Regions from separate parts of the Homo sapiens genome. Here all the other regions are linked to region 3. Evidence: promoter capture Hi-C in 16 types of primary human blood cells and fetal thymus (Javierre and others, 2016). All regions are on one chromosome and are shown on one strand. The core of a region is centred on a gene start or on the middle of the fragment in contact, and the rest is flanking DNA. Distances in the headings are between cores, read along the strand shown. Region 1 holds the start of RRP36 (ribosomal RNA processing 36). Region 2 overlaps UBR2 (ubiquitin protein ligase E3 component n-recognin 2). Region 3 holds the start of XPO5 (exportin 5). Region 4 has its middle 22 kb from the start of SCIRT. Region 5 overlaps MRPL14 (mitochondrial ribosomal protein L14). Region 6 holds the start of TBCC (tubulin folding cofactor C). Region 7 overlaps TMEM63B (transmembrane protein 63B).

Region 1 (3,159 bases), core at 207-2,706, 550 kb before region 3:
GAACAAGACTCAAAAAAAAAATTAATATGGTTGGGTGGGTGGGGAAGGCCTCAGGAAGGATAGGAGTGCTGAGTCAGAGCCTTAAAAGGATGGGAGTTAAGAGCAAAAATGGGTATTCCTGGTGGGGTGAGGCATTCCTGGTGAGGGTAAGGTGGAGGGGCTGCCTGGTTGGCTCTAAGCAAAGCAGGAAAGGCAGGTTGGGATGTTGACTGACATGTATACACAGATCTCAGGTGCCTGGACACTGCAATATACATACATACATAAACATAAACCGGAAATCCATATGAGCTTGGAGGTAGAGGAGTGGGTGGTGTTGGATTTGGTGGTGGGTGGGTTCTGATTGTTCAACCTAGTAGGTCTCTTAAGTAAGAGGTGGCTGTGGGTGGTTGACCTTTAGGAAGTTGGAGAGACTGGTGTGTTTTTAGCTTGGTTCAAACATCCCTTAGCTTGGGCTGAGGGCCCCCTCTTCTTTCTGTCTCTTATTGTTGGCCTTCCAGGTGGGAGCTGAATGCCATGACCACCAACAGCAATATCAGTCGCCCCATCGTCTCCTCCCATGGGTAGGAGGAAGTTTCTGCCACCTCCCCTCCTGAGCCTGCTGTCATCTTCACTGCCCCTGCCCATCTGTCACCCACCTGCTCCTTTGACCCCTGGACTTGGTATACCTCCATGTGGAGTTGTTGGGCGAGAGGTGTTCTCTGTGCTGTGAATTCAGTGGGGAGCTGTAGCGGGGTGGGGGCTAGGTTCCTCCCCCCTTGGGCCGAGGGCCCCTTCCCCTTGGTGCTCTGTCCCCATCCACCTCCTTTCAGCTGCTCCTGGGCCTCAGCTCTGCCCAGGGCCAGCCAGGTTCTGCTGGGAAGGGAAGGGAATGGGGAGAAGGGAGAAGCAAGCAGTGTCTGAGCCTCAGGAGCTTCCCCCTCCCCCTTTGCCTATCCCCTCCCCTCTGCTTGAGCCTTGAGCCTTGACTGGGAGCTGAAAGGAGTTGCAGCTGTTGGCATGAGACCTCCTTCTCCCCGTCTTGGGGAGGTGGGGACCAGCAGATAAATCCCACCCTTCCTTGAGCTGTCGCTGTACTCTGAAGTTCAGCCAGCTCAGATTTTATAAAAATTAATTAAAATCTCCAAACGTGTTGTGTGTTTTTGTGGAATATGGTGGAGAAGGCTGGAGTTTGCAGTGGGGGCAGGGTGCCGAGGACAAGCACCCTGAGGTTCTGGCTTCTCAGCCAAGGGTATTAGGAAACCAAATGCCACCAAGGCCTGGTCCAAGCTTCTCGGGCGTGGAACCCAGCACCCTGCGACTCGGGCAGAAGGTTGCGACAATGTCTCCAGAGCGGGTTATCCTTTGGGCCCGGCTCCCTGGCCCTCGACCGCGCAGTTTTCTGCCCATTCGTCACCACGTTGAGACCGGGAACGCCGGAAGAGGCGGGGCAGGGGCTGCCGTGAGCGGAAGCGGCGCCATTCGTCTTCCGAGCGCTACTGCCAGCTGATGCCGGGAGCTAACTACCGCGCCGGGGCCGGGGCCGGGGCCGGGGCCCGACGTCCCCGCGGGGCCCGGGACCGCGAGGAGGACGGCGGGGGCCTGGAGCCCGCGGCCGTGGCCCGCGACCTATTGAGGGGTGAGGGCATGGGGCAGGGCGGGCTGGGGAGGGGAAGGAGATTCCCAGGCGGGGCCCTGAGCCTGCAGAGACGGTGCCGGTAAGACTGCCAAGTTCTCTAAGAGGCAGACGCTACACTAGGGGTGCCCCCAGTGCAGTGGAAAGTGGGGGGTGAGAGTAGATGCTTCCGGGATTAGGACATCCTGAGAAGTTTCTTCACGGCAGGATGAGGGTTTTCGGCGATGGGGAACGTATGTGCAATAGCATGGAGGCAGGAAAAGGCATGCATGGCTGCTGAAGGCTTAGTAGATCAGAATTCAGCAGATTCCGTAGACTTTGTTTTTTTAATTTTTTTTTTTTGAGACGGAGTCTCTCTCTGTCGCCAAGGCTGGAGTGCAGTGGCGCGATGTCGGCAAGCTCCGCCTCCCGGGTTCACGCCATTCTGCTGCCTCAGCCTCCAGAGCAGCTGGGACTACAGGCGCCCGCCACCACGCCCGGCTAATTTTTTGTATTTTTAGTAGAGACGGGGTCTCACCTTGTTAGCCAGGATGGTCTCGATCTCCTGACCTCGTGATCCGCCCGCCTCAGCCTCCCAAAGTGCTGGGATTCCAGGCGTGAGCCACTGCGCCCAGCCTGTTTTTTAAATTTTTTATATTTTTTATTTTTTTGAGACAAAGTCTCGCCCTGTAGCCCAGGCTGGAGTGTAGTTGCACCATGACGGCTCACTGCGGCCTCGAACTCCCGGGCCCAAGAGATCCTCCTACCTCAGCCTTTCGAGTAGCTGGGACTGCAGGCGCGTCACCACGCCTGCACGGATGGGTTTGTTTATTTATTTATTTATTTATTTAATGTAGAAACAAGGTCTCACCTTTTTTTTTTTTTTTTTTTTGACGGCGTCTCGCTCTGTTGCCCATGCTGGAGTGCAGTAGCGCGATCTCAGCTCACTGCAAGCTCCGCCTCCCGTGTTTACGCCATTCTCCTGCCTCAGCCTCCCGAGTAGTGGGACTACAGGCGCCCGCCACCACGCCCGGCTAATTTTTTGTATTTTTAGTAGAGATGGGGTTTCACCGTGTTAGCCAGGATGGTCTCTATCTCCTGACCTCGTGATCCGCCCGCCTCGGCCTCCCAAAGTGCTGGGATTACAGGCGTGAGCCACCTCGCCCAGCCAGGTCTCATCATGTTACCAGGTGCCAGGGCTGGTCTCCAGTTCCTGGGCTCAAGTGATCCACCCGCCTCAGCCTCCCAAGGATTACAGGATTACTGTGCCCAGCAAATGCTGCAGGCTTTTTGTTAAGGCACAGTTCTAGCTGCTGGAGATAGTTGTGAATAAAGTAGTCAAACACTCCTATCCTGGCCGGGTGTGGTGGATCACACCTGTAATCCCAGCACCAGGGGAGACTGAAGCAGGAGGATCGCTTGAGCCCAGGAGTTCAAGACCAGCCTGGTAAACATAATGAGACCCGCTTTTCTACTAAAAATAAAAAAATTTAGCCAGGGTGGTGGCCCACGTCTGTATTCCCAGCCACTGAGGAGGCTGAGGCATGAGGATAGTTTGAGCCCAG
Region 2 (3,259 bases), core at 755-3,254, 940 kb before region 3:
TGGTTTCCACTAATGTTCTTTCTTTAGAGGTTACAAGTTTATTTTTTTAATATGCTTTCTTGGAAGTATAGTCAAGTTATTTGAGAAACTGTAGTGGTTTTTGATTTTGCTTTTTAATGTTTCCATGTTTCTTTTTCTCTCCTTCATGTGGTATTTATATAATACAGTGTAGACCTTTTTCCCCTGTTTAATTCTCTTTTTAGGAAACATCCCTATATACAAAACAGAATCTAGAAGTAGAAACGAACAGGTATATTTAACCAGTTATAACTGTAAGAAGATAGGTGACGTCTCTAAAAATCTGAGCAAGTACTATTATGATTTCTTTAGTAGCCACCTGGCTTTCTTAAGAAAAGGAATGACCAAAGTTGACTTACCATTTTTATTTTTATTTGTTTGAATTTATTTTTATTTATTTATTTATTTTGGAGGTGGAGGTTTGCTCTATCGCCCAGGCGGGAGTGCAGTGGCGCGATCTTGGCTCACTGCAACCTCTGCCTCCCAGGTTCAAGCAATTCTTCTGCCTCAGCCTCCCGAGTAGCTGGGATTACAGGTGCACGCCACCACACCTAGCTCATTTTTGTATTGTTAGTAGAGACAGGGTTTCGCCATGTTGGCCAGGCTGGTCTTGAATTCCTGACCTCAAGTGATCCACCCGCCTCGGCCTCCCAAAGTGCTGGGATTACAGGCGTGGGCCACCATGTCTGGCCTGACTTACCATTCTAGTTCCTAGGTTGGGTGGTAGTTCATGGGTGTTTATTATAATACTACTATGTTTTTCATGTATCTGTGAAAACAATAGCTACTTTGGTCATTTTTGATACTTGAAGTATTCTGTATTCTCTATTGTTTAATAAGTTCTGACATACTAGAATAGTTAGGCTAGTTTCTGAACAGTAATTTTAATTAAAAGCTATTTATTGTTTTGCCTTCTTTCAGGCTCTGTGAAAACTTCTAATTGCATATTAGGACATAATATTAAAACTTTATTATAAAATACAGTTATAAATTCAATAACATTTTAAAAGCTTGTCACATTTCTTTTAACAATTTTTTCTATAGACCATAGAGCTAAAAAGGAAGGATTATTGCAGTGAAATATTGAAGTATTTTATTGCCTAAAACAGATCTTAGATGATACCTCTGAAATAATGTGTTTATTGGGATTTCTAAATTTATATTTTAGAGAATGTTATATAAACACATAATTTTAAAAGCTATTATTTCTCATAGTACTTGAAGTTTCCTGTTAAAACTTATACCTTCTATGTTTTTATAATCAATATATATTTCTCCTACATTACTTCTTAGGTTTCCATATAAAAGAACAACTATTATTTTCATTCATATATAATTTTTTCACTTCCGTTAAGGGAATGGATCCAATTACACGTCAAGTAGGACAACATATTGAAATGGAACCAGAGTGGGAAGCAGCCTTCACACTACAAATGAAATTAACACATGTCATTTCAATGATGCAGGACTGGTGTGCTTCAGATGTGAGTTTCTTCTGGGTGCGGGGAATAGGAGGAAAGTGGAAGAGGGAGGAATAAGCAGAATCCTAAGTAAATTTCAAGGAGATCTGGAGAAAATAGTGGTGATACTTAGTTCATTAAACAGCGTATTTTCCTTCTCCACCTATAAACTCAGTAAAATTTTAAAATTCTACAGCCTGAGGAAAAACTTGAAAAATAGAGAAAGAAATAATCCAGATTGTCTCTTCCCTAATGTAACTATCTTTGTTTTTTTTCCATAATCCCTTCTAGACTTTGAGGATATAAAAATGGTAGTTTCTAAATTTATTCAAAAATAAAGTTTTATTATTGGTACATTTGTCCTGTGTCTTAAAATTATTTTGGCCTTCCTTTGGCGATAAAGTCTAGATGAGAGCCTGTATACATTATGAGGTTAGGGAGGTTTCTGTAAGGTCTGAACAATCTGTAAAAGTTAATGGAACAATGAGTAAATGATATTCCTGACTGAGAAGACAGCTGCATTATAGTCTGTGATGACAGGGACTAGGGTAGTCCTAGGAGCTATAGAAAGGTCTGTGGTTGGAGCACAGAAGTAGAGAACAGAGATTTGGGCACAGGAGTGATTTTTCGGGGCCTTGGCCATGGTTGTTTTTTTTTTTGTTTTTTTTTTTTTTGAGACACAGCTTACTCTGTTGCCCAGGCCAGAGTGCAGTGGTGCAATCCCGGCTCACTGCAGCCTCAACCTCCCTGGGCTTAGGTGATCCTCCCACCTCAGCCTCCCAAGTAGCTGGGACAACAGGCACACACCACCACACCTGGCTAATTTTTCTATTTTTTGTAGAGACAGGGCTTCGCCGTGTTACCCAGGCTGGTCTTGAATTCCTGGGCTCAAGCGATCTGCTTGCCTCGGCCTCCCAAAGTCTTGGAATTACCAGCGTGAGCCACCACACTCAGCCTGCATTTTATTTGAATTGAAGTGGGAAGCCTTTAGAGATTACCATCTCTCTATTAAATTCCCTGCTTCAACTCTTGCCCCCTTTATCCATTTTCCATACAGTGACATGATTCAATTTACATGTTTTTTAAAATTGCTCTGTATGGAGAATGGATGAAGGGGGCAAGAGTCAAAGCAGGAATTTAATAGAGAGACGCTTGGCAATGCCTTGGAGTTACTAGAGATAGAGAAAAGTAGCAAGTTTTGAGAGAAACTTAGAAGATGAAGTTGCCAGCTTGGTAATAGATTGGACAATGGGGAATGGGGGAAAGGAGGGTATTGGAATAACTTCTAGATTTCTGCACTATATGAGTAAATGTATCATTCACTGAGATGAGGGACACTGGAAGAGGGACCAAATTTGGGAGGGAGGATTGAGTTTGGTTTTGCCTATATTGTTATTTGAGGTACTTACTCACTGAATTTAAGGTGCTTATTCAATGTTGTAAAAACTCAACCTTTTGAGTAACTTACAGAAAAACCCTCTTTTTTAGGAAAAAGTGTTAATCGAAGCTTACAAGAAATGTCTCGCTGTACTGATGCAGTGTCATGGTGGTTATACTGATGGTGAACAGCCAATCACACTAAGCATTTGTGGACATTCAGTGGAAACTATCAGATACTGTGTTTCCCAAGAAAAAGTTAGCATTCACCTCCCAGTTTCTCGCTTACTTGCAGGTAAAGCATTTCCCCTAAAATAAAACCCTAAAATTATCTTTTAAATTGTTGTTTGTGGTTAATATCTGTGAATACTTACTTTGTGCCAGATGTTATTCTGTGATTTCTA
Region 3 (3,466 bases), core at 439-2,938:
GATCAATATTATGTGGATCTCCAAGCACAGTTGCTTTAAAAATATATATTTAATATAAAAATAAAAATATAAAATATATAAAAGTTACACATATATAACATTTCCTCCAAGTGGTGTTCACTCTATTTTATGTGTATATATTATATATATATTATGAATAAAGAACTGATAAACATTCCTTCCAGCGTGATGGTTCCAGATTTTTTCCATGCTACGGCCAACAGTAGCCCTACTAGTGTTGGAAAAAAATGGACACAAAGGAATAAGAAATTATTTGTTAGAGACATCCCCCTGACGTACATAGGGGTGAAATAACAATTTCTAGGGTTTCTTTTAAAAACCTTCGAGGCAGGGAGAGAGGATAGGCGGTGGAAAAAGTAAATGCGGTAAAATCTTTGATTGCTGAATTTAGGTGACAGGAACATGCAGAATCACTGTCGTATTCTCTCCACTTTTGTGTCTATTTTAAATATTAATAATAAAAACCAAACTAATGGAACCCAATTGTTTCTGATTCCAAACCCTGTGGCAGACATCTACATATTGTAACATTTCCTCCAAGTGGTGGTCACTCTCTTTTTTGAAGTTAACATCACTTTAAAAATGTACAGCACAAGTATTTTCTCCTAAATGGCCATTTCTCACAGCCCACACACGTTGTTTTATGGGCAAGTAAGCTTGAATTGTATTAACACCCCCAAACTGCAACATAAGTCAGTCCCAAGAGCAGAGCATTCGGGTCTCACGCAAACTACTTTCAGGAAACCAAAGTGCCCTTGTTAAAATGCAAAGTAAGTGGTAGAAGTTATCTTTGCGCAAAATAGCCTAAAAATATTACACTCAAAAACATGGGAGAAGTAGGGGTGCGAGAATTTCCCCGGAAAATGTCCAAGACACAAACGAAAGTTAGCGAGATGTTAAAGCATATAAGCATAAGGGTACCAGAGGGGCTGGAGCTCGGTCAGGGCCAGGGGAGTGGGCCAGCAGGAAAACGTTTAGTGCAGGAGAGACCATAAAGAACGAAGCTGGTGTTGGGGGCGGGATCTACACGTGCGCCTCGGGAAGGCGAGGGGATGTCGGGCTTGGGGAATGAAAATGGGCGAGGGTCATGTTGCGGACAAGAGTGCACAGAAGCGAGGAAAGGGGGAGGAGAGGGCTGTGGGAAGCTGCGGCGAGATGAGAAGCAGCATAGGGACCGGAGTGTCCCAGGCAAAGGACAGGAGCGGCGAGTAGAGAAGGCGGCGATTTGGGAGAGGCGCGGAGGGCCGCGAGGGGAAGGTCCCGGGGAGTTGGGAAAGGAGGTCCAGGGGCCGCGTGGGCGGGAGACTACCCCAGTTACAGGCGGCGCCGGAGCTGCTGGGGCTGGGAGAGGGTGTCGGGACCGGCCCAGGACGCCAGGACCCCAGCTACCTTGAGGGCTTCCAGCCGGTAGCGCTGGGTGGAGTTGGGGTCCATCATGACCGTCACCGCTTTCACCAGCTGCTCGCACAGCGCGTTTACTTGATCCATCGCCATGCCTAGCGCCACGCGCCGAGAGCGCACACCACTGCAGTCCCGGGACCACGAGGCACGACAGCTCCCTCGGCGAGACCACCCGTTGGTACCGGGCCGCGGCGGGCGGCGGGGGTGGGAAGCTGGAGGAGGAGCGTTAGCAGCAACTCGCGCTGGGAAGAAGCCGGCGCTGCGCACGCGCCCGGCCCGCCACTGCGCACGCGCCCGCGGAAGTGGCGGCTCCCGTGTGCAGGTTGAGCCTAGGTGGGCGGGGCGGGAGGCGGAAGGGCCGCGGTGCGCAGCCGCGTCAACGGCCCTTCGCAGCGGGCGCGCTGTCAGACCTCAGTCTGGCGGCTGCATTGCTGGGCGCGCCGCTCTCGTCTGATCCCTGCTGGGGACGGTTGCCCGGGCAGGATCCTTTACGATCCCTTCTCGGTTTCTCCGTCGTCACAGGGAATAAATCTCGCTCGAAACTCACTGGACCGCTCCTAGAAAGGCGAAAAGATATTCAGGAGCCCTTCCATTTTCCTTCCAGTAGGCACCGAACCCAGCATTTTCGGCAACCGCTGCTGGCAGTTTTGCCAGGTGTTTGTTACCTTGGTAAGAAAATTTAGAACCGTTCGCTGTCACTGTGTTCAGACTTTCTATGTTGCCTTGGCTATTGGTTTTATAATGTAGCAGTGACTGGGCCAAGGTTGCGTGAAATATAAATCATGCTAACAGGGATAAGGCCCTGGTACTGTCTTCTAAGATTTTTCTTGTAGAAAAAAGTATGTTTTTCCCTGTAGTTGTTAAACCTCTCTCTTGGAATTACTTTCCTGGATGTATTATTACCTGGTGGGCACTAAACTTGTTTTGTGCGGATTGGGGTAACTCGAGATGTTTAAAGGGAATAATTGCAATCAGTGAAGGTTTGTGCAGTTTTGATAATTGGCCAAGTGCTATGTATAAGGTTTCAAAGTAGTGTAATCCTTATCCAAAAGCATGGCTTGGGCAGAAAGTCTTCTTCATTTTCCATCTTTATAAAGCTCTTGGCCGGGCGCGGTGGCTCACGCCTGTAATCCCAGCACTTTGGGAGGCGGAGGCGGGCGGATCACCTGAGGTCAGGAGTTCGAGACCAGCCTCACCAACATGGTGAAACCCCGTTTCTACTAAACATACAAAAATTATGTTTGCATTTTTAGTATTTTTATACAGGCGTGGCGGTGCGCGCCTGTAATCCCAGCTACTCGGGAGGCTGAGGTGGGAGAATCGCTTGAACCCGGGAGGCGGAGGTTCAGTGAGCCGAGATCGCGCCTTTGCACTCCAGCCTGGGCGACAGAGCGAAACTCCGTCTCAAAAATAAATAAATAAAGCTCTTGCTTTCTCCAGTAAATACATAAACGGAAAACCTCAACAGCTTTATTATCTGTTAAAGTCTGCATGTCTGTTTTTGTGATTGTGTGCTTAGTAAATTGTGTGCTGAACATAAATCACTGCTTCCTATTCTTGCTCCACTTCTGGTATTTGGATCTAATATGGTGCTTAGCCTGTGTTTTTTTGTGTTACAATACTATTTGTTGGCTCAGTCTGTTCCAGTACTACTGAAAAGCCACTTCAAAGTAGAGGGACTTCTGGCATGTTATAGTTTTAACTTGTAAATGTTTAAAGTATCACATTCTGCCTGTTTTAGGCGTGGTCGATTGGAATTTATAAGGAATTAATGCTTTGACTGCTCTGATTTTAATTATTTTTCTTTCCACTCACCTTCCTGCTTTGCAGTTGTAAGACGTTTTTTTTTTCAAGGTGAATGTTAGTTTTTGAAAAACTTTTTTTAGAATACAGTTGGGTGCTCACTCAACTGTATAACCTGTGTTTCTCGTATTTAAATCATGGATTGCTGGTGTTTCGATTGTCTTATTTAGGTCTTGGCTCCCAAACTGCTGCATATTGGAATTACCTGGAGAGCTTTTAAAAATCCCCGGCCTGGCGCGGT
Region 4 (3,207 bases), core at 585-3,084, 520 kb after region 3:
AAGAATGAGGAGGATTTTGCCAGGTGGAAAAGTGGGGAGGACGAGCGCTCAAAACAAGGAGAATAACTTGAGCAAGGCCAGGGATGTGGAACATGAGGCCTGGTGGGAGCTGAGAGGCAATGGAGTTGCTGAGAGTAGAACTGGCGGGAGATGGGCGTGGAAGGCAGGGTGGGCCAGACCAGAAGGGACCCTGAATGCCTACCAAGGATGTCTACATTGAATTTCTGGGCAACGAGGAGCCAAGGCAGGTTCTTCAACAGGCTGAGCTGTACTGTGCTTTAGAAAGATGACTGTGATGCAGGGGCCTGGAGAGGCTGGTGTGTGGGGAGGGGCAGCTAAAATAAATGGCCAGAGGCTGTAGAGAGAGGTGGGGCAGGACAGGGCCCGTCAAGCCCCAGAGGTAACCAAGACTGAGAAGGAGTTTCACTCTTGTTGCCCAGGCTGGAGTGCAATGGTGCGATCTTGGCTCACTGCAACCTCTGCCTCCCGAGTTCAAGCGATTTTCCTGCCTCAGCCTCCTGAGTAGCTGAAACTACAGGCGTGTGCCACCACACCCAGCTAATTTTTGTATTTTTAGTAGAGACAGGTTTTCACCATGTTGGCCAGCTGGTCTCGAACTCCTGATCTCAGGTGACCCACCCTCCTTAGCCTCCCAAAGTGCTAGGATTACAGGAATGAGCTACCACACCCGGCCAAGAAAGTATTTTTACAGACCCCAAGAATGGGGTGTCCAGCTGGGCGTGGTGGCTCATGCCTGTAAAATCCCAGTACTTTGGGAGGCCAAGGTTGGCGGATCACCTGAGGTCAGGAGTTCGAGACCAGCCTGGCCAGCATGGTGAAACCCTGTCTCTACTAAAAATACAAAAAATTAGCTGGGCGTGGTGGGAGGAGCCCGTAATCCCAGCTACTTGGGAGGCTGAGGCAGGAGAATCGCTTGAACCCGAGATGGCGCCATTGCACTCCAATCTGGGTGACGAGAGCGAAACTCCGTCTCAAAAAACAAAAAAAGAATGCAGTGTCCCCAGCCCCAGGCCCCGCCCTGCTTCACCCCACCTCCCTCCACAGTTTGGCCTGGGTCCATGGCTGGAGTCCCTTCCTAGCCTATAGCCCCAGGCCCTGCTGCAGTGACCCCCATCAGCCCAGGGCATTCTGTTCATGCCCCATGACTCTCATGAAGGATGAGAGCAGGGTGCTGGCTTTACAGGAGTTGGGTGAACCTCAGATACTGAGAGTGGACAACACTTACACAGCCCTGACCCGGAAAGGGGACCTGTTTTAAGTGCCTTATTTTGACTCACTTCAACCCTACAAGGTACGTACTATTACATTCCAAGGAGGGGAAACTGATGCACAGGGGACTTGCCCAAGGGATGTGAACCCTGGCAGTCTGGTGCCAGGGTCTGTCCTCCGTACTCCACCTCAAGGTAGTCATTGCTCTCTCTAGACTCTGAGTGTCTCTACCTGCTCTCCTCTCTCCTCTTTGCTTTCACAATGATCCTGCCAGATGCTCTCTTTCCTGCCAGAAGGGAGGGCTACATGTGAAAATCTGGCATCAGAGTCTCAGCCACTCCCTTCTCAGGAACCACCTGCCTGCCTGCCATAGCAGGCGGTGAAGAGCCAGCCCTGACATCAGACAGCTCCTGGAGGCAGGCAGGCCTGTCTGAACCCTCCTCCCTGCTGCAACAGAAATGGCTACCAGCCCCACTGGCCAGGCCTACAGCAGGCTGTGCCTGGCCCCCACTTGACAGGCAGCACTCACCTCTCACCTCTGCTCTGGGGGCCCAGCTGAGGCAGCACCTGCCCAGGATGTCATGGTGCCATAGTTGCACCAGCTCCAGGACCAGGGCAGCTGAACGCCCCTTTGCCCACTAGATGGCACAATGTGCACAGAAATGTGGGTTGACCGCTTGGCCACCCTTTCCACCTGCAGAGGAACTGGATTTCACCACACTCTGCATTTATCTCATTTTTATTCTCATTCCTCATCCTAACCCATAGCCAACCATTTGTATGTGTCCTTGCAAAACAAGTGCATGTATTTTTTAGTTTCACAATTAGTAATATATATATATATATATATATATATATATATAAAAAACACACACACACATTATAGATATATTTCTTAATTGTTTTCGCTCAGCACTGTATTTTTAAACCTCATTCATGTTGCTGTGAGCACATTTAGTTTCTGGTGGGCACCTTCCACATTTATTTACCCACTCTGAGGGCGACAGGCACCCAAGTTCCCTCCAACACCCCAGCAACCCTGCCATGACCGTCCTTGACAGGAACCGTTACGGCTCGGCCTGAAAACCTAAGAAGCGGAATTGCCAGGTTACAGGGCATGCAGCGACTTCATTTGGCACAGTACTGCCAGCCAGCTCTCAACCCACCCAGTTCTTGGAGGGTTCCTGGGGAAAAGACGCCCAGCCTCCTAGGACTAGTCAGCCTAGCACCCCTTCCTGTGGGGAGGGGCCCCAATCCTTTCTGCTTGGGCCCAAGGGAGATGGAGAGCCAGTGGCCTCTGTCAAGAGCGTCTTGCAAAGGTAAGACCTTAAGGTCCTACATCTCCCCTGGGCATTTTTTTTTTTAAGTAAAGGGCAATGGCTGGCCTGTTAAATCCCCCACATCCCTCTCTTCAGGAGCCTTTCTGATTACAAAGCCCATTCTTTTTCTCCCTTCTCCTCCCACAGAACTATCCCAGTTTCCTGCATTTTCCCATTTCTCTTCCTCTGCCCATCCCTTCCATGTGAACACCCTACACTTACTAGCTATGTGTCTGTGGACAAGTTACTTGGACTCTCCCTCTTTGTCTATAATATGGAAATAAGTAATATCATTACTAATAATAGGCACACAGGCATAATCCCTCCCTGGCCTCTGCACACAGCCCTCTCTCTAACTCAATGCTGCCCCACTTCCCACATATATTTAAGTAGCTCAAGCCCCTCCTCCCCCAGGAAGTCATCCCTGATTGAACCAGATACAGTCCCAATGTCCTTAATCCAACTGTCACCTACTAAGAGCTCAAGTGATTATTTTTGGCTGAAATTTGAAATAACAATAATGGCTATGATTGATACGCTGAGCACCTACTATGTGCCAAGAATTCTACGGCCTACTCCATATCCACACAAGAGCCCTGGAAGGCAGACATTGTCATCCTGACTTCTCAAATGAGGAGGCTGAGACTCAGAGAGTAAG
Region 5 (3,451 bases), core at 479-2,978, 540 kb after region 3:
ATCTCAGCTCACTGCAAGCTCCACCTCCCGGGTTCACACCATTCTCCTGCCTCAGCCTCCCAAGTAGCTAGGAATACATGCGCCTGCTGCCATGCCCAGCTAATTTTTTGTATTTTTTAGTAGAGACAGGGTTTCACCGTGTTAGCCAGGATGGTCTCGATCTCCTGACCTCATGATCCGCCCGCCTCGGCCTCCCAAAGGGCTGAGATTACAGGCGTGAGCCACCGCGCCCGGTCCCCTAATTTTCTTATTTACATGTTGCTGGGAACTAGAAGATATGGGTAAGTTTACTAAGGGAATTCTCTGACACAACATACCAGAAACTGGTAATAAGTCAAGGTAACAATCTTCTGTTTTAATACATTTTTTCTCATTAGAAAAAAAAATTTTAGAGAGTACTTATTGAAGGCAGACAAGGTATTATTAAGCAAGCTGATTACAGTGGGATTCCTATTTTCCTGATGCTAGCACCTGATGCTGGTGTTTCCGCAGGGTAATCCTAGGACCTCTTCTCTCGTTTTTTATGCCTACTCTGGGCAATCTTACCCATTAGCATTGCTGCCAACTAGTAAATTCCATCTCCAGCCCCGCCTCTCTTCTATATTCTAGTTCTATATATTTCCACTCTCCTCAACTCCCTACAACATGCTCTATAGATACTGCAAACTCAGTAGGTCCCAAACTCATCTCACTGCCTCCCCTTGCAAACCTCCGCCTGCTGCTACACTTATCTAGACGATGGCTTCTCCAGCAGTACCAGAAGCCAAGCCATAAACCTCTCTCCACCAACATGAACTGGCCACCAAGTCCTGTTAATATCACCCCCTAAGCACCTATGTCCTTTCTCTCCAATCCCGCCAACAACTTCCTTCATTTAGCAGCTCACTCTCCTACACCAAGACTGTGACATTAGTGTCCTAGTTGGTTCCCATTGCACTTCACTTTGCCAACAAAGAGCTCTCTTTAGAATATAAAAGTGATGCTACTCCCCACCATCTACACTGTCAACAACCTTGTCCCAATTTACCTACCTTCTAAGGCTACACATCCTACCACTCTGGGCAGGAGAACCAGGAACCACTTCCCCAAGCACACCCTGCCTCCCAATTCTCCCTGGAGGCCTAGACAGGATCTGCCCCCATCTCCCTTTTGAGAAGACTGCCTCCACTCTTTCTCCTCCTCTTCCTCCACTAGCAGCTCCTATATGACGCCTTCCAAAGCACTGTACAATCCTCTATTATAATATTCTATCACATTTTCTTAGAGTTACTTATTTTCAAGTTTGCTCCTGTGGCTGACAGTGAGAATTCTTTCAGGACAGAAAGCAACTCTCTTTCATCTCTGTATGGCCAACCCCAGGTGCGGTGCTCAGGAAATGCCTGTGGGATGAGGGCATGACGGGGCCAGGAGGCATGTCTGCCAACAAGCGTGCCTCCTGTGCTCTCCTGGCTTAGCATCTACAAGGAGGGGAGGGTGTCACACTTCTATCATGCTCAAGTTCTTGGTAATAAGCATGTATTATTTTTGTAATTAAAAAAATTCCGTTTTTAAAAGGATTTTAATGCTCTAGGGGAATGATAGGGTTGAGAGATGTCAGATTCACTGTAAGAGTCTTGCAAGGACTGAAGAGTAAAAGCTTCCGCCATATGCCATTCCCCATCACACTTCTAACAGCAACATCACCTCTTTACCTATCCCCCATCCTGTGACCAGACCAACCAGGCCAGCTCAGCCTGATCACTTTAGCTTTCCCCAACCCCATGCCCACCTCCCTGAGTTTTTACTCCTGTTCTAGTCACCGTAATACCCAGCCCTGATAGGAAGCTTACACAAAGACACAGTTTTAAGAACTTAATGGGAAAAGTTACCTGAAACAGTGATGGCTCAGCACTCTGCTTACACAGGTGAAGGGGCCCCAGAGCCCAGTAAAGAAAGCCATGGGATCCCAAGATAGATCCTGCAGGAAAAACGAGAGGGGGAAAAATTGGTTTCTAAGTCAGAGCCCTTAAAGCCAGTTTTCTTTGGGGACTTGTGTGGGAGATGGCACTTCCAGCACAAGATCATTAGTCACAAAATATAAATCTTAGTGGTTAAAGGATACACAGATGATTAGACAGAGCTGTAGCTCCGATTTTGCTGATTCACATTCTAACTCTGGGGTTGGAGAGGGAGAATGGCCCACAACAGCTTCTGCTATAAAAAAATACAACAGCACGGAGAATGCCTTCCTTATTATATCACTTCCACAGGCAGGAGGAAAATATGAGCCCTTGGTTATAAACCCAGCCAGGGACTTCTTCTCGAGTCCTCCATAGAGGAAAAACTGCACACTATTGCCCTTTTTGATATTCATATGCCTTCTGAAACCAGCACTTTAACTCCCTAAAAGAAAGTAAATTATCTAAGCAGCCACCCAAGTTGTCTATCACTACATCACCTTTCCCCCAAATGTAAAGGCCAGAACACCTGTACAGCTCAAGGCCAGCAAAGCAAAGCCAAAGGCTGCTCTTGCCAAGTCAAAGACCAAAGTCTTTATTTGGGTCAGTCTCCCAAACACTGTAACATGGAAAACTGACCTACACCATACTACAGCTGAAAGTGGGCTTTGGGAAACCAACTTGAAGAGTTAGCTAAAAGAGCAAACACCAACCCAAGACTTGTGACTCCAGTTTTCAGAATCTCAACCCTGTTGCTCCCTAGCACTAACAAATATGGAGGCTGCCAGTGCCCTGAAACACCTGAACATCACTTCAGAGCATGCTTCAGAAAGGCCTGTAGCCAGCTGCAAAACACACCTGTTTTTCCACCCAAACGTTTGGCAGCAGAGGTGCCCATTCAAGAGGTCTGCCGAGAAAAGCCTCTACACTGTAGTATTTACACACAGCTTTGCTATGCACAAGTTCAAACCACCTCAGATAAGATTTTATTTAATAAGAATGTTAGGGTGGGGCAGGGGAATCCACTCCTCCCCAGGAATACCTAGACACTCCATACTTTTTTTTCTTTCCTTGAGACAAGTCTTGCTCTGTCACCCATGCTGGAATGTAGTGGTGCAACTGCAGCTCACTGCAGTCCCGAACTCCCCAAGCTCAGGTGATCCTCCCACCTCAGCCTCCCAAGTAGTCAGGACCACAGACATGCACCAGGACGCCTGGCTAATTTTTTGTGTTTTTTTTTTTTTTTTTTTTTTTTTTGTAGAGATGATGGTCTCACTATGTTGCCCAGGCTGGCCTTGAACTCCTGAGTTCATGCAATCCTCCCGCCTCAGCCCCGCAAAGTGCTGGGATTATGGGTGTGAGCCACCCACCACACCTGGCCTTTAAATGCTTATTAACTACAATTTAGCCTCAAATCCCAAACTTACTCCCAAATGTTTTCCTTAAGACAACCCATGAAGCATCAGCCAAAATGTAATTATGATCAGAAAAATCAAATGCAAAAGAAGGCAGCT
Region 6 (3,467 bases), core at 361-2,860, 830 kb before region 3:
ATGTATTTACTGCAGACCTACTTTATTATGCACCGTGATGTTTCAAGTATCACAAACCATTACAAAGCAATATAATCACCCTCCTTCCCCCTTACTGCTTCAAACTATTGTGGTAAAAATAAATAAATAAAGCCCTGGCGTGGTGGCTCACGCCTGTAATGCCAGCACTTTGGGAAGCTGAAGCGGGTGGATCACCTGAGGTCAGGAGTTCGAGAGCAGCCCGGACAACATGGCGAAACCCCGTCTCTACTAAAAATACAAGTTCGCGTGGTGGCGCGCGCCTGTAATCCCAGCGCGCCACCACGCTGGGGGACGGAGTAAGACTCAGTCTCAAAGGCATGACGAAAATAGCAAAAATGCTTTAGTGTTATACCTGTTACGAATTTAATGGAAATTACAAGTAGGAGCCCATTACAATCTCTAGCCTTAAAATGCTGAAAACATACACAGTGTGACAATAAGTAAACTTCGAGACCCAATAAGGGGGAAAGTCCAACGTGGAAAGTATTTGGTAGGAGTGAAGAACAGAGTGACAACTGCTTAGTCCCACTGGATATTTCGCTCCTCTTCAGGAAGAATACTCCAGTTTGGGGAGGCCATATCCCGGGCCAGCCAGTTAAAATCGTCAACATCGTTCCAGTTATTTTTGCTCCTATCTAAACCAGAGCTCTCGAAGTCCTTGTCGATCTCCGGGTAGCTCCAGGTGTAAGGGGCGAACTGGATCCCACTGCAGTCCTCCACGATGGCCCTGCTGGTCACCTGCAGGAAGATGCGGGTGTCTTTCGTACTGTGTATGCGGAGCTGTTGGCAGGCCACTGCCAGCACGCAGTCACTGCAGTCCTCCAGGAAAACAGAGGTAGACACCGGACCGCAGAGCAGCTTGCAGCTGTGGGCCTTGGTTAGCCGCAGGGTGTTGGGATTTCCATACAGTCTGACCGTGCAGTTGCTCAGTTCGGTCAAAAGAACGTCGCGCTGGTGCAACTCGCTGGCTCTCTTCTCCAAGACTTGGGACTCCAGGTTGGAGAAACCGCAGACCCAGCTGGGGCCGAGGTCTCCTTCCGCCTTCTTGGGCAGCGGGGAGTCCTGTATGCTTTCAACTGCCGGGGGGATGCCAGGAGCCGCGTCTACTTTGGTAGACGAAGCAGCATCCTTTCCCCGGGTCTTGAAAGCGAAACGCTTCTTGGGCTGCAGCCCCCGGCGCCGCTCGGCCAAGGCCGCCTGCAGCCGCGCCAGCGCCTCTTGTCCCTGCCGCAGGTCGTAAGCGGCTAGGAAAAAAACTGAGTCGTTGATTAGTTTCTGCAGCCCCTGGAGCCGAGAGGCCGCCTCCTCCAGCCGCTCGACCGACTCCGCGCGCTCCAGAAGCTCTTCCACGGCCGCTCGCTCCCGAACAAAGGTGGCGACGAAAAAGTGGCTGTTCTCCTTCTCTACCTCCTGGTTCTGCCGCTTTTGTTTCCGCCTTTCAACTTCCAGCTGCCGTTCTTGTTCGCGTCTCTGAAGCCGCTCAGGCACCAGGCTCAGGTCCCGCTGGGACTCCATGTCTCCGGTCCTGACAGCAGCAGCGGAGCAACTGACGGACTCCATATTGGCTTCAAGCTTCCTCTCTCTTGTCTTCCTTCCTCCGGGCGCGCTGTCCGTGAGGCCTCCCACCAACGCGTCCGGTGATTGGCCTAACATGATGATGTCAGATCCCCGGCCTTATTTTCTTCGCCTATTGGTTCCTCTGCGTCGGAGGGGGCGGGGAGATGGGGCGGGGCCGACTGACTATGGGGGTGGGAAGACAAAGGTTCTTGTGGATGGGTGGGGTGGGAGGCAGGCGGGGGAATCTTTTTTTTCCTCTTAAAGGGGCAGGACTTATATCCGGGATTGTGGGGTGAGTTGCAGCAGCGGCAGCTGCACATGTGGGTTTGTTTATAAGAACAAGGTTAGAAACTCGCAGGCCTCCCCCTCCCCCCAGCTCCTCCCTACTACCCCCTTACAGGCCGGAGATCCGCTACTAGGGGTGTGGGTGGGAGGGATGAGTGCGTGTGGTGGGTTGGGGGGACAGGTAGTGGTGAGAAAGATGGAGCGGGGGGGAATATTGCACCGCCTGGCCCGCGCCGGAGGAAGCAGCAGCTGGAACAGCTGGCTGGGGAGCCGCTTGCATGCCTCCGGTTTTTTCTTTTCCCTTCCACCACCCCTTCCCCCAACCCATTTCTGCCTCCCCGTAGCCCTCATCCTTACCGCCCCCCTCCCCCCTATCCACTGCAGTTCGGCGCGGCCTGGGGGCTCCTGGATCCCCGCAGGCAGTTACTAGGGCAGGAGAAGGCAAGGGGCACTGCGATGGGAGAGACTGGGTTCCTCACTGCAACCTGGTTCGAGGGGCCCTGGGGGAGTCCATAAAAGGATTACTATTTTTTTGGCCAATTGCTGCAGTCGGAGGGGTGGGGGCGGGGGAAGGTGAGATCCACACCCCCTTCCTCTTTCTTCCCTGCCCTCCCCGAGCTCGGTCCCGGCCACTCCCTCCGCAGCTGGGCGTCGCCGGCCGCGCTGGGGTGAGACCCTAGCCCCGGGCTCCGTGGCTCTCTGGGGCGGTCGGTCTTAGGAAAGCGGTGGGAGAAGCGGTACATTATTTCTAGGGGTGGTGGGAGGGATTTGTCACCGGAAGTGAATGGCCTAGCCTAAAGTCGGGACCAACCCGAGGTGTGGGTGGGCAGCCAAGACGGCGCAGTCACTGGCAAAAACCCGAGGCAGCGGGCAGGGCGAGAACCCGAGACGCAGCCGCTGCCCGGGCGCGGCAGCCTCGCATGCTTCGCTCAGATCTGCGGAGCTCCCGAACCTCTTTAACCCTGCCCGCCCTTCCAACCCTAGGTTTCCTCCTTATATCCCCAGTTCCCAGCCTCCATCGTTTAAATTGGGGTATTTAACGACCCAAGAAACTTGAAATTTCACCGATCTACCTGCATTTTGATGCAGAGAAAGATGGGAGGAAACGCGAACCATTGAATTAAATCTGAGTTAAAACTGATCTCCCATTTTCACGCCCCACTCTCTTCCTTTCCTTCCCACTTAAAACAAACAAAACACACATAAATTGCTGGGCCAGAGTATTTCTCCGCTGAGAGCACAGTTCATACCGTGTGGCAGATTCCCCGCGCAGGCGGGGCGCGGGGGCAGGGGAGAGGCTTGTGTGTCCGCGTGCCTGCGTGCACCCGATGGAAAAGGGGGTGCCGAAAAACAATGGTGCTTACTCTTGTGCATAGTCATCGTTTTCACTAGTCTTGTTTTATGGGCAGATTAGGTGAGGCTTCTGTTTTTGCTTTTTTGTTTTATTTTGTTTTTTTTTTTTTTTTTTGAGACGGAGTTATGCTGTTGTTGCCCAGGCTGGAGTGCAATGGCGCGATCTCGGCTCACCGCTATCCGCCTCCCGAGTTCAAGTGATTCTCCTGCCTCAGCCTCCCGAGTAGCTGGGACTACAGGCATGCGCCACC
Region 7 (3,244 bases), core at 745-3,244, 560 kb after region 3:
TACAGATTGGAAGACTGAGACTCAGGTTTCGTAGTAACAGAGCTCGCTTCCATCTTCCCCTCCTCCCCTCAGACCACATGGCCTTGCTTTGATCCAAAGCCCTAACTTAAATCTTGCCCAGTAACTCCACTGAAAAAGCTTATATCACTCCTGTAATCCCAGCACTTTGGGAGGCCGAGGTGGGCAGATCATGAGGTCAAGAGATCGAGACCATCCTGGCCAACATGGTGAAACCCTGTCTCTACTGAAAATACAAAAATTAGCTGGGCGTGGTGGCATGTGTCTGTAGTCCCAGCTACTCAGGAGGCTGAGGCAGGAGAATCCCTTGAACCCAGGAGGCAGAGGTTGCAGTGAGCCAAGATCGCGCCACTGCACTCCACTCTGGTGACAGAGCGAGACTCCGTCTCAAAAAAATACACAACAACCCCCCCAAAAAAAAGCTTATAAGTTATAGCTCTCCAACCCCCACCATGCACACACTCCTTAATGGTAAAATTAAAAAGTTAGCTAGAAGTAAAATGCTCCATCACTCTCTGGACACACCTCAACCAAAACCTCAATATCAGACTAGAGAAACTGGGATATAGCTGGTGCAGGCACCTCGTGGAGTGGAAGAACTGCCACCTCCCATCCCCAAGGTATTCTGCCTCAATGTCTTCCCTCTTCTCAGTTGCTCAGCCCAGTGCTGGCTTTGAGAGCAGCTGCCCTTGATGAAACTCAACCCAGCAACCCCACCCCCACAATTAAAAGCTTGGAGCAGCCCTGTCAACTGGCAGAGCTGCCAGCCCAGGCTCCACCCCTTACCTGTCCTGTCACTGTGCAAGTTGCTTCCCCTACTGGGTTCCTGCTTCCTCCCTGTAAAATGGGGATAGTGATCTGAGTGTGCCCTGCCTTCCTCCCATGCAGGTGGGAAGATTAATGCTGTTGTGGAGGGGAGAGTACTTTGTGACCCCAAGGAGGCGGACAGCAGAGGAGCATGGTGATTTCAGTTACTAACCATCTAGCTAGATCCTGTCCACCCTGCTGGGGCCACTTCATGTAGAAGCTTCCAAAATGCTCTACCTTTCTTTGGTGTGGAGAAGACAGGAGTTGATAGGAATGGTACTCTGGGGCTTGTTCTCATTTCATTCTGATCTGATGGAGCCTTGGAATTCAGAGAGAGAAACAGGCAAGGGGTGGGAATAGAGTGTTGAGATTGCTGGAGTACATTGGAGTTGAGAATTGAGAAAGGGGGACTAGTTAGAGTCCCCCCAACCCAAGATACCTATACCTACCTTTAACCTCCCATAGTGCCCCAGGGTTCTGTGCATCTTATGTTTACATACCCGGGCTCCCAGACACACCCATGTTCACACCCCCACTTCGAAGCCAACAACTCCCTTCATTTCCGTGGACTGCCATGCAGTCACCTAGCTCCTCCTGGACACAGGTCCACACATCAACACACATTTACATACCTGGACACACACATTTCCACAGCACCCACAGGTTCTCTGGCCTGAGAACATTTAATGAGCATTTATAAAGCTTCCATGGTCTGCCGAGTCCTGTTCTAGGAACATCAGAAAAGCACCGTGGTGCCCTGAAAATCATTCTAGCTTTAGAAAGAAGGTGAGCTAGGTTTGAGTCCTAGGTCCCTCATTTTATTAGCAGTGTGACCTTGGGAAAGTTACTTAACCTCTGAGGCCCTGTGCCCCCACCCTAAAATGTCAGTGACACTCAATTCAGGATCGTCGAGGATTAAATGAAATCATGTAATATATTATTCTTGAAACTGAGGGCACTGGACAAATGGTACCCAATACAATTACTAAATTAGTGTGTTTTTAAAGGCAGCTTGGACTGGAAAAGGAAGAGGCATAACACACCAGCACACACTCCTTTAGTCTTCCTAATCCAGGCTTTGCAGAGACTCCCTGGGACCAAGTGAAACACATAAACAACTCCATCCTCCCCTCCATCTGAGGGCTTCTGCCTCTTGCCCTGTGGTTGAAGTGTTAGGAAGAGGCAGGAGAAACCCTCTGAGTCCCCCTGGGGGCTAAGGGATGCTGCTCCCGAAGTTGCAGTCACTGTTTCTAGTTTTGTTGTTCTCTTTGGTTTTCCTTTTTCTTCCCTGAGGACCTCCTCCCCTGCTCCACAGCCCGCCCCCGAGGCAGAGCTTCAGTGTTGTCAGCAGAAGGGTCCCCCAGGGACCCCCCAGTAAAATGGGTGGGGCAGTGCTGCATCTGTTGAGGCCACACTTCTCCGCTATCCTGGGATCCTCCCCAGGGCCCCACTCTGCTCTGTCCCCAAGCACTTTGAGAACCCAGGCACTCAGGCTGGCTGTCCCTTTTCTCCTCCTGCCCACCCCATCCACTCTGAGCATCAATGCAGCCGGCCAGTTGCAGGCAACCAGGCAGCACCCTGGCTGCCCAGGCAGGCTAAGAGGCCCCCACCCACTCCCCCCTCCTTTGCCAGTGGAAAAGCTTGCCGTAGGGCATAGCTTTCCCAGCCTTCCCTGCTTCAGAGGCAGGAGCATGGCACTCTGGGAGTTGTAGTGCTCATAACACTCAGGCGATCCCTGTGCAAATAACTGGAGAGAGGACTATGGTATGGGGAAGAGAAATGAGAATAAGCAGGAGTGGCTGGGGCCAGGCAGGTAACTCAAACCCAGAAGTCCTACTATTTACTTGACTTCCTACTCTGACCCATCGTCGAACCTAAGCCAGTTATATTGAGTTCAAAACTCTAACCAAATGAAATCATGCCATTTTTTCTAATAGGCATAGAAAGAAAAGATCAGGATGAGGCAGCTGGCTCCTGACCCATTCTCCCCTGACGTGGAGACCCCTCATCTTACCCTTGAGTCCTCAGGCCTAAGACCCCTCCCTGTCTTCCCAGGCTCAGCTCCGCCCCCTGCCCTAAGACAGAGAGAATGAGAGTGTGGGGGTGGCGGCGGCAGGGGGGATTTAGATAGATGTTAGAAAATCACAGATACCTTCCAGCTTAATGAAACCAGCCTCCCCAGTCCAGGCCTGGCATCTAGACTGAGTTCCCCAGACCCAGGGTGGGGTCATAGCCAGAGAGCCAGTGAAGGTAAATCCATGTGACTCAACTCTCCCCTCCCTAGGCCCTTATCTCCAGAGGCCAGAGCTTCCATCCACCCAGGCAGCCTGGTGATCTGTCCTCACTGCCCCCTCCCCACGCCCACCCTACTGGGCCATGAAGGGGATGGGGGCAAGCCCAGCTGACTGCTCCACCCTCT

Evidence for each region. The method cuts DNA at HindIII sites, captures the fragments that hold promoters and counts their contacts. A CHiCAGO score of 5 or more calls a contact.
Region 1: the fragment with the promoter of RRP36 here is called in contact with the fragment with the promoter of XPO5 in region 3 in 3 of 17 cell types (erythroblasts, megakaryocytes and M2 macrophages); the score reaches 5.6 in erythroblasts.
Region 2: a fragment that was not itself captured here is called in contact with the fragment with the promoter of XPO5 in region 3 in 1 of 17 cell types (M2 macrophages); the score reaches 6.5 in M2 macrophages.
Region 4: a fragment that was not itself captured here is called in contact with the fragment with the promoter of XPO5 in region 3 in 1 of 17 cell types (erythroblasts); the score reaches 5.1 in erythroblasts.
Region 5: a fragment that was not itself captured here is called in contact with the fragment with the promoter of XPO5 in region 3 in 1 of 17 cell types (M1 macrophages); the score reaches 5.1 in M1 macrophages.
Region 6: a contact is called between the fragment with the promoter of TBCC here and the fragment with the promoter of XPO5 in region 3, in 2 of 17 cell types (naive B cells and fetal thymus). The highest score is 6.6, in naive B cells.
Region 7: a contact is called between a fragment that was not itself captured here and the fragment with the promoter of XPO5 in region 3, in 1 of 17 cell types (erythroblasts). The highest score is 5.2, in erythroblasts.

The regions. Positions count from the first base shown.
Region 1 is chr6:43,020,167-43,023,325 of GRCh38, forward strand. RRP36 (ribosomal RNA processing 36) reads left to right here and starts at 1,457. Exons shown (of 7, transcript NM_033112.4): 1 at 1,457-1,618. The coding sequence starts at 1,489. It overlaps KLHDC3 (kelch domain containing 3), which reads left to right. Exons shown (of 11, transcript NM_057161.4): 11 at 501-1,128. The coding sequence ends at 567. RefSeq lists enhancers at 1,009-1,740, 1,139-1,248, 1,309-1,358, 1,741-2,472 and silencers at 1,449-1,518, 1,529-1,578, 1,589-1,658. The HindIII fragment of the contact is 2,407 bases long and covers 1,268-3,159 here.
Region 2 is chr6:42,634,045-42,637,303 of GRCh38, forward strand. UBR2 (ubiquitin protein ligase E3 component n-recognin 2) reads left to right here. Exons shown (of 47, transcript NM_001363705.2): 14 at 1,374-1,502; 15 at 2,967-3,150. Among named protein-coding and RNA genes, the nearest start is that of UBR2, 72 kb to the left of the region's middle. The HindIII fragment of the contact is 1,957 bases long and covers 1,027-2,983 here.
Region 3 is chr6:43,574,350-43,577,815 of GRCh38, forward strand. XPO5 (exportin 5) reads right to left here and starts at 1,689. Exons shown (of 32, transcript NM_020750.3): 1 at 1,411-1,689. The coding sequence starts at 1,515. It overlaps POLH (DNA polymerase eta), which reads left to right and starts at 1,836. Exons shown (of 11, transcript NM_006502.3): 1 at 1,836-2,091. RefSeq lists a silencer at 1,636-1,835 and enhancers at 1,856-2,105, 3,434-3,466. The HindIII fragment of the contact is 3,950 bases long and covers 676-3,466 here.
Region 4 is chr6:44,095,025-44,098,231 of GRCh38, forward strand. No RefSeq gene overlaps it. Among named protein-coding and RNA genes, the nearest start is that of SCIRT, 22 kb to the left of the region's middle. RefSeq lists silencers at 1,728-2,022, 1,800-1,969. The HindIII fragment of the contact is 6,139 bases long and covers 1-3,207 here.
Region 5 is chr6:44,114,673-44,118,123 of GRCh38, forward strand. It overlaps MRPL14 (mitochondrial ribosomal protein L14), which reads right to left. Exons shown (of 3, transcript NM_032111.4): 2 at 1,869-1,957. The coding sequence starts at 1,939. Among named protein-coding and RNA genes, the nearest start is that of MRPL14, 11 kb to the right of the region's middle. RefSeq lists an enhancer at 2,534-2,703. The HindIII fragment of the contact is 188 bases long and covers 1,635-1,822 here.
Region 6 is chr6:42,744,493-42,747,959 of GRCh38, forward strand. TBCC (tubulin folding cofactor C) reads right to left here and starts at 1,611. Exons shown (of 1, transcript NM_003192.3): 1 at 6-1,611. The coding sequence starts at 1,581. The coding sequence ends at 541. It also overlaps a transcript of BICRAL not described here. RefSeq lists enhancers at 1,100-1,259, 1,320-1,399, 1,430-1,639, 1,704-2,667, 3,054-3,103 and a silencer at 2,610-2,669. The HindIII fragment of the contact is 2,174 bases long and covers 1,592-3,467 here.
Region 7 is chr6:44,131,311-44,134,554 of GRCh38, forward strand. The region is part of intron 1 of TMEM63B (transmembrane protein 63B); the gene reads left to right. Among named protein-coding and RNA genes, the nearest start is that of TMEM63B, 5.4 kb to the left of the region's middle. RefSeq lists a silencer at 1-10 and enhancers at 1,855-2,820, 2,243-2,412, 2,821-3,244. The HindIII fragment of the contact is 938 bases long and covers 1,526-2,463 here.